Linked DNA regions of Homo sapiens: regions 2 and 3 are each linked to region 1. The links are contacts of gene promoters, found by promoter capture Hi-C in blood cells and fetal thymus (Javierre and others, 2016). All regions are on one chromosome and are shown on one strand. Each heading gives the region's core, a stretch centred on a gene start or on the middle of the fragment in contact. The rest is flanking DNA. Distances are from core to core; before and after follow the strand shown.

What was found. The method cuts DNA at HindIII sites, captures the fragments that hold promoters and counts their contacts. A CHiCAGO score of 5 or more calls a contact.
Region 2: a contact is called between the fragment with the promoter of MZF1 here and the fragment with the promoter of ZNF787 in region 1, in 1 of 17 cell types (neutrophils). The highest score is 6.7, in neutrophils.
Region 3: the fragment with the promoter of ZNF329 here is called in contact with the fragment with the promoter of ZNF787 in region 1 in 2 of 17 cell types (neutrophils and naive CD8 T cells); the score reaches 9.3 in neutrophils.

What each region holds. Positions count from the first base shown.
Region 1 is chr19:56,119,510-56,123,547 of GRCh38, reverse strand. It overlaps ZNF787 (zinc finger protein 787), which reads left to right and starts at 2,253. Exons shown (of 3, transcript NM_001002836.4): 1 at 2,253-2,376. LOC124904772 (a long non-coding RNA gene) reads right to left here and starts at 1,938. Exons shown (of 2, transcript XR_007067348.1): 1 at 1,616-1,938; 2 at 1-28. RefSeq lists silencers at 1,757-2,126, 2,217-2,336, 2,347-2,426, 2,717-3,036, 3,117-3,166 and enhancers at 1,771-2,486, 2,914-3,208. The HindIII fragment of the contact is 11,888 bases long and covers 1-4,038 here.
Region 2 is chr19:58,570,943-58,574,980 of GRCh38, reverse strand. It overlaps MZF1 (myeloid zinc finger 1), which reads left to right and starts at 1,646. Exons shown (of 6, transcript NM_198055.2): 1 at 1,646-1,926; 2 at 3,552-3,987. The coding sequence starts at 3,592. MZF1-AS1 (MZF1 antisense RNA 1) reads right to left here. Exons shown (of 6, transcript NR_027334.2): 4 at 3,026-3,123; 5 at 2,158-2,403; 6 at 184-2,064. RefSeq lists enhancers at 1,272-1,701, 1,762-1,851, 1,220-2,079, 2,080-2,941. The HindIII fragment of the contact is 12,442 bases long and covers 1-4,038 here.
Region 3 is chr19:58,149,047-58,153,084 of GRCh38, reverse strand. It overlaps ZNF329 (zinc finger protein 329), which reads left to right and starts at 2,296. Exons shown (of 4, transcript NM_024620.4): 1 at 2,296-2,333. RefSeq lists an enhancer at 2,160-2,219. The HindIII fragment of the contact is 7,703 bases long and covers 1-3,749 here.

The DNA.
Region 1 (4,038 bases), core at 1,004-3,503:
GAAGCAGCATCCCAAGAGTGATTTTGTACTGCGGAAGGGAAGAACAGATGTTAATTGTCAATTAAGCCATGTCGGCTGCAACCCATCCCATGTTTGGGAAACATCCTGGTATTGGTTGGGTTGCCTTAAGGGAGAGACTCAGAATTACCAATGGTTTCAGTGAGTTAGAAAGTGATTTCTCTCACATAAAATCTCAGCTGGCACGGAGCCTCTTTCACGAAGCCATCCAGTGTCTAGCTGGCTCCCTGTGTCTTGTTTCTCCTCCATCCTCAGTGTTGGCTTCCATCTGGTGTGCCAATGAGCTGTTCTCGATCTTGCCGTTGTCAATTTGACCAGCGAAGAAGGGGAATGGGCTGGAGAGGGAGGAGGCTGTCCCTCCCAACAACCAGGTCACTGCAGGACACCCACTGAATGATCTGATTCAGAGGAGCACAAGCACATGACTTTTCTTATAAACAGGTTTCCTCGTGTAGAGTTTGTACCCTAATAATTTGTTTCTATTGCTGTTATGATAGCACTTCACTCTCTTTTTTTTTTTTTTTTTTTTGAGACGGAGTCCCATTCCATCGCCCAGGCAAGAGTGCAGTGGTGCGATCTCAGCTCACTGCAACCTCTGCCTCCCAGGTTCAAGCCATTCTCCTGCCTCAGCCTCCCGAGTAGCTGGGATTACAGGTGTCCGCCACCACGCCCAGCTAATTTTTGTATTTTTAATAGATATGGGGTTTCACTATGTTGGCCAGGGTAGTCTCGAATTCCTGACCTCCTGACGTCTGCCTCTGCCTCCCAAAGTGTTGAGATTTACAGGTGTCAGCCACTGCACCCGGCCACACTTCCTTCTGTTCTAAGATATATTTAAAAATTTACCTTTGTGATATTTCTGAAGGAGGGACACAGATATCCTCCTATTGACACACACAGTTAACACAGCACTGTTCACCCCACCCCATGGAAAGATGTTATTAAATCAATAATATACATCTTATGATTGATGCTCACTGAGCTTTGAGGGTATACAGTGGCCACAACAATAGACTTATATGTAACACTGCTAATAGGTAATAATAACCACCATCATTTTTGTGAACTTACTATGGGCCAGGTATTGAACTAAGCAGCTCTTACACATATTACCTTGCAGGTTATCTTATTTTTTCCCATTCCACAGATGAGAAATTGAGGCTGAGAAAGGTGTTATTCCACCAGTGAATTATAGCTTCTTATCTTTTCTGACTACCAGTGAGGATGATAACAATTATAAGCGATAAGTCATCTGCCACTTAGGTGAGAGTCAGCCAAGTACAGAACAGAGGAAGGACCAGAAGGACCAGCCTACAAGGACACTATGGTTTGGACAATTATTTTAAAATATGTGTTTTTTGCAAGAATACCAACAGTAACAGCTAACACCCAGTGCGTCCTTACTAGGTGCCTACCTAACGCGGGGGAAGTAGTGGATTCTCAGGGCTATGACACGAGGCAGTGTGTACAGTCAAGGGTTAAATACACGAATTTAGAGCCAAACTCCATGGGTTCGGGCCGAGGCTCTGGCATTCCGGGTGTGTGACTTTTGGTAGGTGATTTGACTCCTCACCTGCAACATAGGGATAGGACCTACCATGAGGCCCTAGTTAGGACTAGGACCTAGTGCGTGTGAAGCACTTGGAGGCGCACAATGTATTTTCATCACTTCAGAAAGGAGGAAACTGAGGCCATGGCACCTGAAGCGCAGCACTCTCTGTCCAGTAACTAAGGAACCCGGGGTCTCTGTCCAGTAACTAAGGCACCTGGACTCGGGCCACTGGGAGGTGCAGCGGCAGAGAAGGGGTTACCATGATAGAGACGGTAGGAGGACCCGGGGTGGCACGAGCGTCCCTCTCCACCACTTCACTCTCCTCACGGCGGGCCCGGGGACCCGGCCGCGCAGGCGCGAGGAGCCCGGGTTGTCGGGGGGGCACCGCCCTAGACACCCGGAAGTCTCCGCCTAACGGGCCCAGCCCGCACCTCCTGTCCGGGAAGGGGGCGGGGCCGAAGCCCCTCGGCGCGGGGCGCCATAGAGCATGGACGGAGGACCTGCGTCCTAGACACTTCCGGAAGTGGCTCCCTCAGGCGCCCGCCGGGCACCACAGAGCTGGGGGCGGTGGCCGGGATAGCGGGCTCGCCTTCCTAGAGCGGCGAGGACAGGGTGGCGGCCCGGGGGGCAGGGAGTAGGGAGAAGGGGGGGAGCGGCGCGGGCGGAAGCGGCCGGGAAGGTCACTTCCGGCCTGGGCGCCCGTCCCCCTGACCCCAGGGTCTGAGTCGCCGCTGCCGCCGCTGCCACCATCCGCGAGGCAGGAGAGAGGAGGAGGAGTGCGGCGCGGCGGCCCCGGGACCAAGGAGGTGAGGGGTGGGGGCGGGGGCCGTGCGCTGGGGGCCAGGTGGGCGCGCGCTTCGGGAAGCTGGGCTTGGGCTGGGGGTGGGTGGGGAGACTGGAGGGCGAGCGCGACTGGGCGGCGGGCGCGCGTGCGCGCTGCTGGGGGGGCGTGAGTGGGCGCGCGGCCGGGGTGACGCGGGCGGGGGGAGTGCGCGTGCGCGCCGAAGAGCTGTGGGAGGGGACGCGCGCCCGGGCGGCCCGCGGGCGGCGAGCGGGGCTGGAGGGGGGGTGCGCGTGCGCGGGTCCGGGTCCAGGGCGCGCGCGTGCGCGTGGCGGGGGCAGGAGCGGGGGCCTCGGTGGGGGTCCCTCTGCTGCGGGCCGTCGGGGGTGGGGCCGCTGTCCGTCCCCCCGAAGTTCCAACTCCGCCGGTCGTGGCCGGAAGTGGTGGCGACTTCGGGGGGAAGTTGAGGCCCAGGTGGGGGAAGGGGCCGCGCGGTTGGGCTGGCCTGGCCGGATACCGCGGCCCCGAGGGCACGGTCTCAGCCCTCGGCCCCCCCAGCCCTTCCTTCCCCTTTTCGAGTCAGCCCGGGTCCCGTTGCTGCCCCGGGCGGGCTGCGCGTGGCCTTTGATCAGGCGGGTAATTACGGGGATTCTGGCCGGCAGGAGGCCCATTCATTCGTCCTTGCTCGGCAGGCGGGGAGGAAGCGCGTCCCCAGCGGGGGAAGTGACTGGGCCAAGGTCAGCCACCGCGTGGCCCACGGGGCAGGGCGAAGGCGGGGACTGGATCGGGTGGCGACTCCTGAGGCCTCCCTCCCCTGTGCCGAGTGGATCAGAGTGGAGCCCCGCCCTCCTGACACCCCACCCCGACCCCCAGTCCAGGGAGCTGACCCCAATTCATGTGGATGAGTGCTCTGGGACCTGCAGAGTCGCACAGAAAAGTGACCCACAGACACAGAAGGCAGGAGTGAGTGGAGGCAGAAGTTTTTCCAGTGCCAGGCCCTGTGCCGGGCACTAGAGACAGGGAGCAGGGAGATGAACAAGGGCTTGGAGTCTGGGTGGAAGGCAGAGACTGAGACCCGGGCGACAGAGTCGCCATCCAAGGTGACCAGACCCCTGATGGAGAGGTCTGGGGGCTGTGGGAGCCAGGGAAGGCATTTTGACCCAGCCCAGTCCGGGGGATGGTCAGGGCTTTAGGGAAGGAATGGCTTGGTCTGCTCTTTGCGGTGTCCTGCTCCCAGGTCCCATGTTGCGCAGTGCTTAGAACCCATCTGGGGATCCGATTGACCCCAGCGCCGGGAAGCACAGTTGCGTTGATCCTGGCTTAGCTCCTCTGAAGACCGTAAGCCTCTTTGGCTAAACGCTGCTGACATTCACCTGCCTGCCTCTGCGCAGTCCCTGTGGTCCTCCGGCCACGCACGGCCTCAGAGAACATCCAGATCAGATTCCTGCTTGCTTATCTCATGTCTTATCCATCCATCCGGGCACCCGGCCTGGCCCCTCCCTGGTGCACTGCCAGAGTGTGTGCAGGCACTGGGTTGTATTCCCCAAGAGCTCTGGGACTGGGCAGGCCTGGGTTCAAGTCCCAGCCCCACCACTCACCTTCGTGGCCTTAGACGAGTAACTTCAGTGCCTTACTTTCCACCAGGACAGAGTGGGAGTGGTAATAATAGTATTGACCTCAGCGGGAA
Region 2 (4,038 bases), core at 397-2,896, 2.5 Mb before region 1:
TGGTCTCGATCTCCTGACCTCGTGATCCGCCCGCCTCGGCCTCCCAAAGTGCTAGGATTACAGGCGTGAGCCACCGCGCCCGGCCACTATTTTCTTTTTCCCTGTTTGTCCCCTAGCCCGGAGAACAGGTTCCCTTCAGACTGCCAAATATAATTTCAAAACAGTTAAAAACATGACTCTCAGTGAGCATGTGTCAAAAGATTTATTTACCGTACTGAGGGAAGCAGCAAGATGATTCTAGGAAGACAGGAAAGGAAGAATAAACACTGGCCGGCCGCGGTGGCTCACACCTGTAATTCCAGCAATTTGGGAGGCCGAGGTGGGCGGATCACCAGAGGTCTGGAGGTCAAGACCAGTCTGGCCAACATGGTAAAACCCCATCTCTACTAAAAATACAAAAATCAGCCGGGTGTGGTGGAGCAGCCTGCAGTCCCAGCTACTCGGGAGGCTGAGGCAGGAGAATCGCTTGAACCTGGGAGACGGAGGTTGCAGTGAGCCGAGATCGTGCCACTGCACTCCAGTCTGGCAACAGCGAGACTCCGTCAAAAAAAAAAAAAAAAAAAAGAAAGAAAGAAAAAGAAAAACACTGAAATAAAAGCACAAAGTTGGATACAAAACTGCTTAGTGAGCTACAAAGCGATACACTGGACAGAAAGCATTTGCAACCTATCAACCTGTACAGGGTAGCATATAACTGGACAGCATCTGGACTCCTAAGTTTTCCTAACAGTTTTACCTCGGATTCTCCCTGTCTCTCTTCGTGCTGTCATCTTTCTCTAGGTCTTCGAAAACTGTCAATCCATCTTACTGTATCTCTAATTTCTGTCCCTTTTCTCCCTTCTTGTTTCTGTCCCTCTCCCTTCTTGTCTACCTCTTGAGTCTGGATATCTGCATTTCTTGTCTCTGTGAACCCATTCTGCGTTTCCTTCTTTGTGTCTCTTTCATCTGCATCCCTTTCTGATCTGCCTCTCTCTTGCTAACTGTTCTGACACCTGTTTGCCCGGCCCTGACCCTCTGATCCACTCAGCCCTCTTATAACTTGGACCCGTGTCTCTATGTTTGTTCACTTATTTTCACTGTCTCTCCTCGCGTCGAGTCTCCGGTCCTCCCAGTCTGTGAGTCTGTCTCTCTGTCTCTCTCTCTCTTCCTCCCGCCGGTCCTTCGTCTCTCTTTGCCCTTGAGTCTCTGGTCTCTCTCCGTCTCTCCTCGCTGTTTCTATCGATCGGCATCTCTCTGCCCCAGTACCCTTCCCCACCTCTTCATCCCACATGCCCCATTGCATTTTCAACGCCCGCCGCGTCTCCGGGTTACCCAGGCGATGTCGAGTCGTGTCCCCAGGTTACCATGGAGACGTTCAGGGCCCGCCCCTCGCCCATGATCACAGAGGAACGTCATCGCGCCGCGCGCGCACGTACACACGAAGGGCCTGCTGACTACATCTGCCGGAAAGCATCGGGCCAAGCCTTTCTCCATTTTGCGGTCTAGGAAGTAGCAGAGGCCCCTTCCTGTAGGGAGTTGCCATGGAGACGCGGTGGGGCACCGACGGAGTTCTAATGACGGCCGTGATTGGTGCAGGATCCTGCTAATCTCAGGAAGGCCCGTAGAGAAGTGAGGAAAACGTGGTGGGGGGCATGCGCGATCTGGTAGGCGGTGCTGCCGTCTGTTGTACCTGAGAGGCTTGCGCATGCCGACGCACGGATTCGAGGCGGGGAGCATGGGAAGAAGCGGCCAGGAGTATGACCTGATCATTGCGACCACCGCTAGGGGAAGGGAGGAGAGGGTGTAGAAACGGGGACGAGGGTGGGGGAAGGGCAAGGAGGCGCTCGAGCTGGTGCGCGGAGCATCCTGGGAGACGTAGTCCAGCGGGAGGGGGAAGTCGAAGACTGCGCGTGCTCAGGAGCGCGGAGCGGCCCGCTGAGCGCAGAGGTGAGGGCGGGGTCCTCTTAACCGGGAGGGCTATCGTGTGGACGGGGGCGGTGGCTGCAGACTCGGGGATTCCGGCTCCCCAGTGAGACCGGAAGCGCGGGGAACGAATCCGGGCAGTCCTTGCGGGAGCGCCCAGGGCTAGAGCGAGAGGCTTGTCAATCACTACTCGTTGCCACGACGACAGGCTTTGGGAGCCCCGCCCCCGGTTGCCTAGGCGTCGTCTGGACCTACCTTGGCACCCTGGAGCGGAAGTTGCCGCCTGGACTTCTGGGAAGTGTATTTCGGGACCCTCCGTAGGTACCTGCCATCTTGGCTATGACCCAAGTCTCTCCCAGGGTTTCAGGTTGACTTGGCACCTTGAAGAGTGGAGGCTTGGCCCCCAGGATGAGGCGGCCCTCGAAATCGATGCCACCCACGGGGGAATGATTCTGCGGTGCCATCCCCTTCATAAACGCAGATTCCTTCCTAAAGCCGCAGCTGCAGAAGGAACAGCGCGAGGAGGGAGGTCAGCCCCACTTGCAAATGGGGAAACAAGTTCTCGAAGGCACAGTGATCTGAAGATGGGCGGAATCAGAGTCTCGGGACTTCCTTGCAGGCTCCTGTTCCGGCAGTCTTGGAGCCTTTGCCGCCCCCCCACCCATTGCGAAGCTCCCCCATCCCCTTCCAACCCCAGCTAAATCAGGAAGCTGAGATGGGGCATTGCGTAGTGTGATGTTGGGCTTAGAAGATGGGGCTGAGTAGGGAGAGAGGGTGCTGCCTGGGAGCTGAGCCATACAAGTGACTGCACAGGTTGACATGGAGGATTAGGTGGAGTGAGGCTTCCAAGCAGGGAGGGGAATGATGGTGGGGCCCAAATGAGGAGCCACATCGAAGTAGATGAGAGAATAGAAGGTGAAGTAAGGGCTGGCGTTGGGTAGGGGGAGACGCCAGCAGTGATGCTGATGCCCAGGCTGTAGGTGTATAGGTGCCATCCACCTGGTAAAGAGAGAGCTGTAGCGCAGGAATGAGGTTGCACATGTAGAAGAAGGGAAGGATACAGGGGAGAGAAGTGTCTTCTAGTCCTAAAAAACAGCCTGTGGGCTGGCATGGTGGAACAAACCTGTAAGTCCCAGCACTTCGGGAGGTCAAGGTAAGAGGATCATCTGCTTGAGCCCAGGAGTTCAAGAACAGCCTAGGCAACATAGTAAGATCCCATCCCTACAGAAAAATTAAGAAATTAGCCGGATGTCGTGGCACACACCTGTTGTCTCAGCTACTTGGGAGGCCGATCTCTGGAGCCCGGGAGGTCAAGTCTGCAGTGACGCATGATCTCGCCACTGCACTTCAGCCTGGGCAACTGACTGACAGCATGTCTCAAAGAAAAGAAAAAAAAGCCTGTGTTTGGAGCAGGGAGACTGTCAGAGACTTTGCACAGGCCCAAGCGGAGAGAAGACCAGGGATACAGGTGGCTAAGGGAGGGCTTCCAGCTGCATAAGTCTGTGGGTTGTAGATGGCCTTTCTTTGCCTGTTTCCTCATCTGCCTTCCACATGGGGTAGGTCTGAGGATCAAACGGTACAGCATAGACTAGGCAGTGAAGCATTCACTGTACTCCTTTTGCAACAGCCTCATCCTATTTCTTCACCAGGGGCAGACACTGGCCTCAGATACCTGACCTGGTACCCTCTATGAGGCCTGCGGTGCTGGGCTCCCCAGACCGAGCACCCCCAGAAGATGAGGGGCCTGTCATGGTGAAGCTAGAGGACTCTGAGGAGGAGGGTGAGGCTGCCTTATGGGACCCAGGCCCTGAAGCTGCACGCCTGCGTTTCCGGTGCTTCCGCTATGAGGAGGCCACAGGGCCCCAAGAGGCCCTGGCCCAGCTCCGAGAGCTGTGTCGCCAGTGGCTGCGTCCAGAGGTACGCTCCAAGGAGCAGATGCTGGAGCTGTTGGTGCTGGAGCAGTTCCTGGGCGCACTGCCCCCTGAGATCCAGGCCCGTGTGCAGGGGCAGCGGCCAGGCAGCCCCGAGGAGGCTGCTGCCCTAGTAGATGGGCTGCGCCGGGAGCCGGGCGGACCCCGGAGATGGGTGAGTGAGTGTCCACGAGTGGGGTTCAGGACTGGAGCATCATCCAGCTCG
Region 3 (4,038 bases), core at 1,047-3,546, 2.0 Mb before region 1:
TAGCACTAAGGATTTCTCTTTGCCACTGAATGGAAAAAACACCCTTGTTATTATTAATGATGTTATGCTTTATTGTTAACTTTATTACTAGATTATTACTTTTACTCATCTCTTCTTGCATACTCTTCTATTCTTCTGATATTTGTGTCTGTATTAGTGCCTATTTGAGCCCATCTGCTTAATATGGTACATTTTAGTATCTAATAAAGGGTGCCTGACTTTTTTTTTTGAGACGAGAGTATAGCTGTCACCCAGGCTGGAGTGCAGTGGCACGATCTCAGCTCACTGCAACCTCCGCCTCCAGGATTCAGGCAATTCTCCTGCCTCAGCCTCCGGAGTAGCTAGGATTATAGGCACCCGCCACCACCCCCGGCTAATTTTTGTATTTTTAGTAGAGACAGGTTTCACAATGTTTGCCAGGCTGGTCTTGAATTCCTGACCTCAAGTGATCCACCTGCCTCGGCCTCCCAAAGTGCTGGGATTACAGTTGTGAGCCACCGCGTCCGGTCTCCGACTGTTCTTTTAACCAGATACTGTTGGACTTTTCTCCATATGATCTTTAAGTTGTTTTATTCTGTGAGCTGGGGGCGGGGGGAGTCTTTGAATTGGAATTGCTATACTTTTGTTTAGTAGTTTTGTGAAGATTTTTTTTTTTTTTTTGAGACCGAGTACTAGGATTGCAGGCATGAGCCACTGTGCCCAGCCAATTTTTATATTTTTAGAGATGGGGTTTCACCATGTTGGCCAGGCTCATCTTGAACTCCTGACCTCAGGTGATCCCCCCAGCCCGGCTTCCCAAAGAGTTGGAATTACAGGCATGAGCCACTGTGCCTGGTCTGATACGGCCTTCATGGAGAAATTAAAAAAATACTTTCCATTCAGGAATAATATGTCAGTGTGTTCTGAACTTAACTTCAGGTCTGTTAATGAGGTTTTTGTATTTTCTTCATGAAGATCCTTTATTGCTTTTGCTAATTGATTTCCAAGTTGCTCCAACCATCACTATTGTGAGTGACAATTTAATCACTATTATGGCTTAGAATTTTTTTTCTAATTTTCATTTCAAAATTGTGAAGTATTTCAACCTGCGGAGAGGTTCGGAGAGTAATAGAATAATCTATAAATAATAAAGATGACACCCATGTATCATCGAGATTTTACCTGTGTTAACATGTAGTCAGATTTTCAGGTTTTGATTTGTTTTTTCCTATCAAGCATCACAGGTGTAACTGAGGTCTCCTTTGTCTCCTCCCCAACTCTTTCCCCTCAGTTGCCACTTTCTTGAGGTTGGACAATCTATCTGGTCCATGTTATTGTTACTTTACTACTTATGTATCAATCTCTGTATAACATATAGATTTTGTGTCTTTTATTTCCAGGTAAGTTGTATCATGTGGATAAGTGCACAGTTTACTTTTCGAACTGTTTTTGGAGAACTGTCTATCTTGTATATAAGTTAGTCCTTTTTTTTTTTTTTTTTTTTGAGACGAAGTCTCCCTCTTGTCCCCCAGGCTGGAGTGTGATGGTACGATCTCAGCTCACTGCAACCTCCGCCTCCCAGGTTCAAGTGATTCTCTTGCCTCAGCCTCCCGAGGAGCTGGGATTACAGGCGCCTGCCACCACGCCTAGCTAATTTTTGTATTTTTAGTGGAGACGGGGTTTCACCATGTTGGCCAGGCTGGTCTCAAACTCCTGACCTTAGGTGAGCCCAGTCCGTTTGTTTTAACCACCCCCTATTGCTCCGTTGCACATACCACAGTTTCTCTCTTCCCTGTCAGTAAATATTTAGGCTTCCCCATGCTAAAGTTTAAGAGAACCACTGAAAGAATGAAAATGTGTAGTTTTCATTTTCAACCGGCTATTGTTACTACAGAGGAAAGTTACTGGCTTTGTTTACATTTCTTAGATCTAGTCATTTTAACAAATTAGGCCTCCCAAAATGCTGGGATTACAGGCGTGAGCCACGCACCCAGTAAATAATTATATTGCCAATGAATAATGAGTGTACTTATTCTGAATTTTAACATTATTATCTCAAAAAAAGATTATAGATAAAGAAATATTTTAGGAAATTATGCAGTAAATAAAAGGAAGGCTCTATAACAAAAGAATGATAGCATCGGGTTAAAAATCAGAGGAGACCATAGGAGAAAGTAAATGCCTGCGCGTCCGCCCCGAGGCAAGTCCACGCCAGGGTAATGAATAACCCGGTACCCGCGGCCGCCCCAGCGTTGGGCGGGGGAAGCTCGGGGACTCCGCGCACGCGCACATCCTTGTCCCGGCAGCCGCGCAAGCGCAATCGCCCGGAACATGGCTGCCGCCGGCCGCCAACCGTAAGTGCCGACGCATCCCTGAGCCCTGCGCTGCCTCCGTTTCCTGCGGAGGGAAGTCTTGGCGGGTGGAGGTCCGCCGGGTCCTTGTGGGGCGGCGAGGGGCGCGTCCGCGGGTGGGTTTCACCTGGGTGGTGGGCATGTCGGGCCCGCTAGGGCGAGGGTCTGGCCAGGGGCGTAGTTCTCCTGGTGGGTGGGGACGCTCCGTGGCGATTGGGGTCACTCCTCTGAGGACGAGGTCGCTCCGGGGCTGGTCTGGACGCCCCCGCTCTTTCCTTAGCGTCACCCGTGAGTTCCGCGCTCGCATCTCTAGCCCGCCCTCCCATAGAGACTGTTTTGCCACGCCTGCTGGGTGTCCTGGTCCGTCTCCGGGGGTAACCCCCGAGTCTGCAGCTTTTCTGTCAGGTGTGAGGGGCAGTGTAGGCTTGGGTCGGCCTCCGGCTGAATTGGCGGCCGTGAGCCAGTGGGCTGAGCCGCTTCCCCTTGAGTCTCGAAGGTGTTAGATCACCTGTGTGTTTTTCCATTTGATATTTGCAAAATCATGTTTTACTGCAATTCTCAGTGAGGGCCGCATTTTTGCACGTGTTTAGTGACCATTTTGCTGTCTTTTCCCTTGGTTTAGTGGCATATTTCCTTTGTGCAGTCTTCCAGTCTCAATATTTTATGACATAAAATGTTGGTTTAGATAGAGAAGCTGAAAGACTTGTGCAGTGAACGACCCGGTTAACGTCTGCTGAACTTACTGTATCCCTTATCTTTCCTTCTGTCCATCCTTTCAGCCATTCATTAATCCACCTATTTTTGGAAACATTTCAAAGTAAGTTGCAGATATCACAACACTTCTCCCTCAAACACCTCACTATGCTTACCATGAATTAGAGTTCAGTAGTGCTTTTTTAAATTTTTTGAGCCAAAATTGACTTTCAGTGAAATGCACAGATATTCCCTGTACCATTGATGAATTTTGACAAATGCAACCTAAACCTTTATTAAAATTACCATCAGCCTGAAAAGGTCCTTTATTTTTTGCCAAGTTAAAAAATTTGGCTATAGGAACTTGGGCTTGTTGAAGTACGTTTTGAATACCCAGTTTTTGTCTGTTTTTTCTTTTTTCCCACAGCAAGTGACTTTCCTCCATTCTACTGCTTGTTTACCTCTCTCTTCACCCAACTTTTCATTTTGAAAAGTTCCGCATTTGCATAGAAGTTGCAGGAATAGTTTAACACTTCTAAAACCATCCAGATTCTAAAATTATTAACACTTTTTGCCACATTAGCTTTATCTTTATCTTCTCCCTGCCTGAGACACATGCATAGGTGTTACCAGAAAGGGGGTCCCGAGCTATAACCCAACAGAGGGTTCTTATATCTTGGGAAAGAAAATTCAGGGCGAGTCCATAGAGTAAAGTGAAAGCAAGCTTATTAAGAAAGTAAAGGAATAAAAAAATGGCTACTCCATAGATAGAGCAGCCCCAAGAACTGCTGGTCGCCCATTTTTATGGTTATTTCTTGATTATATGCTAAACAAGGGGTGGATTATTCATGCCTACCATTTTTAGGCCATATAGGGTAACTTCCTGATGTTTCCATGACATTTGTAAACTGTCATGGTGCTAGTGGGAGCAGGACCAGAGGTCACTCTCGTTGCCATCTTGGTTTTGGTGGGTTTTAGCCACCTTTACTGCAAGCTGTTTTATCAACAAGGTCTT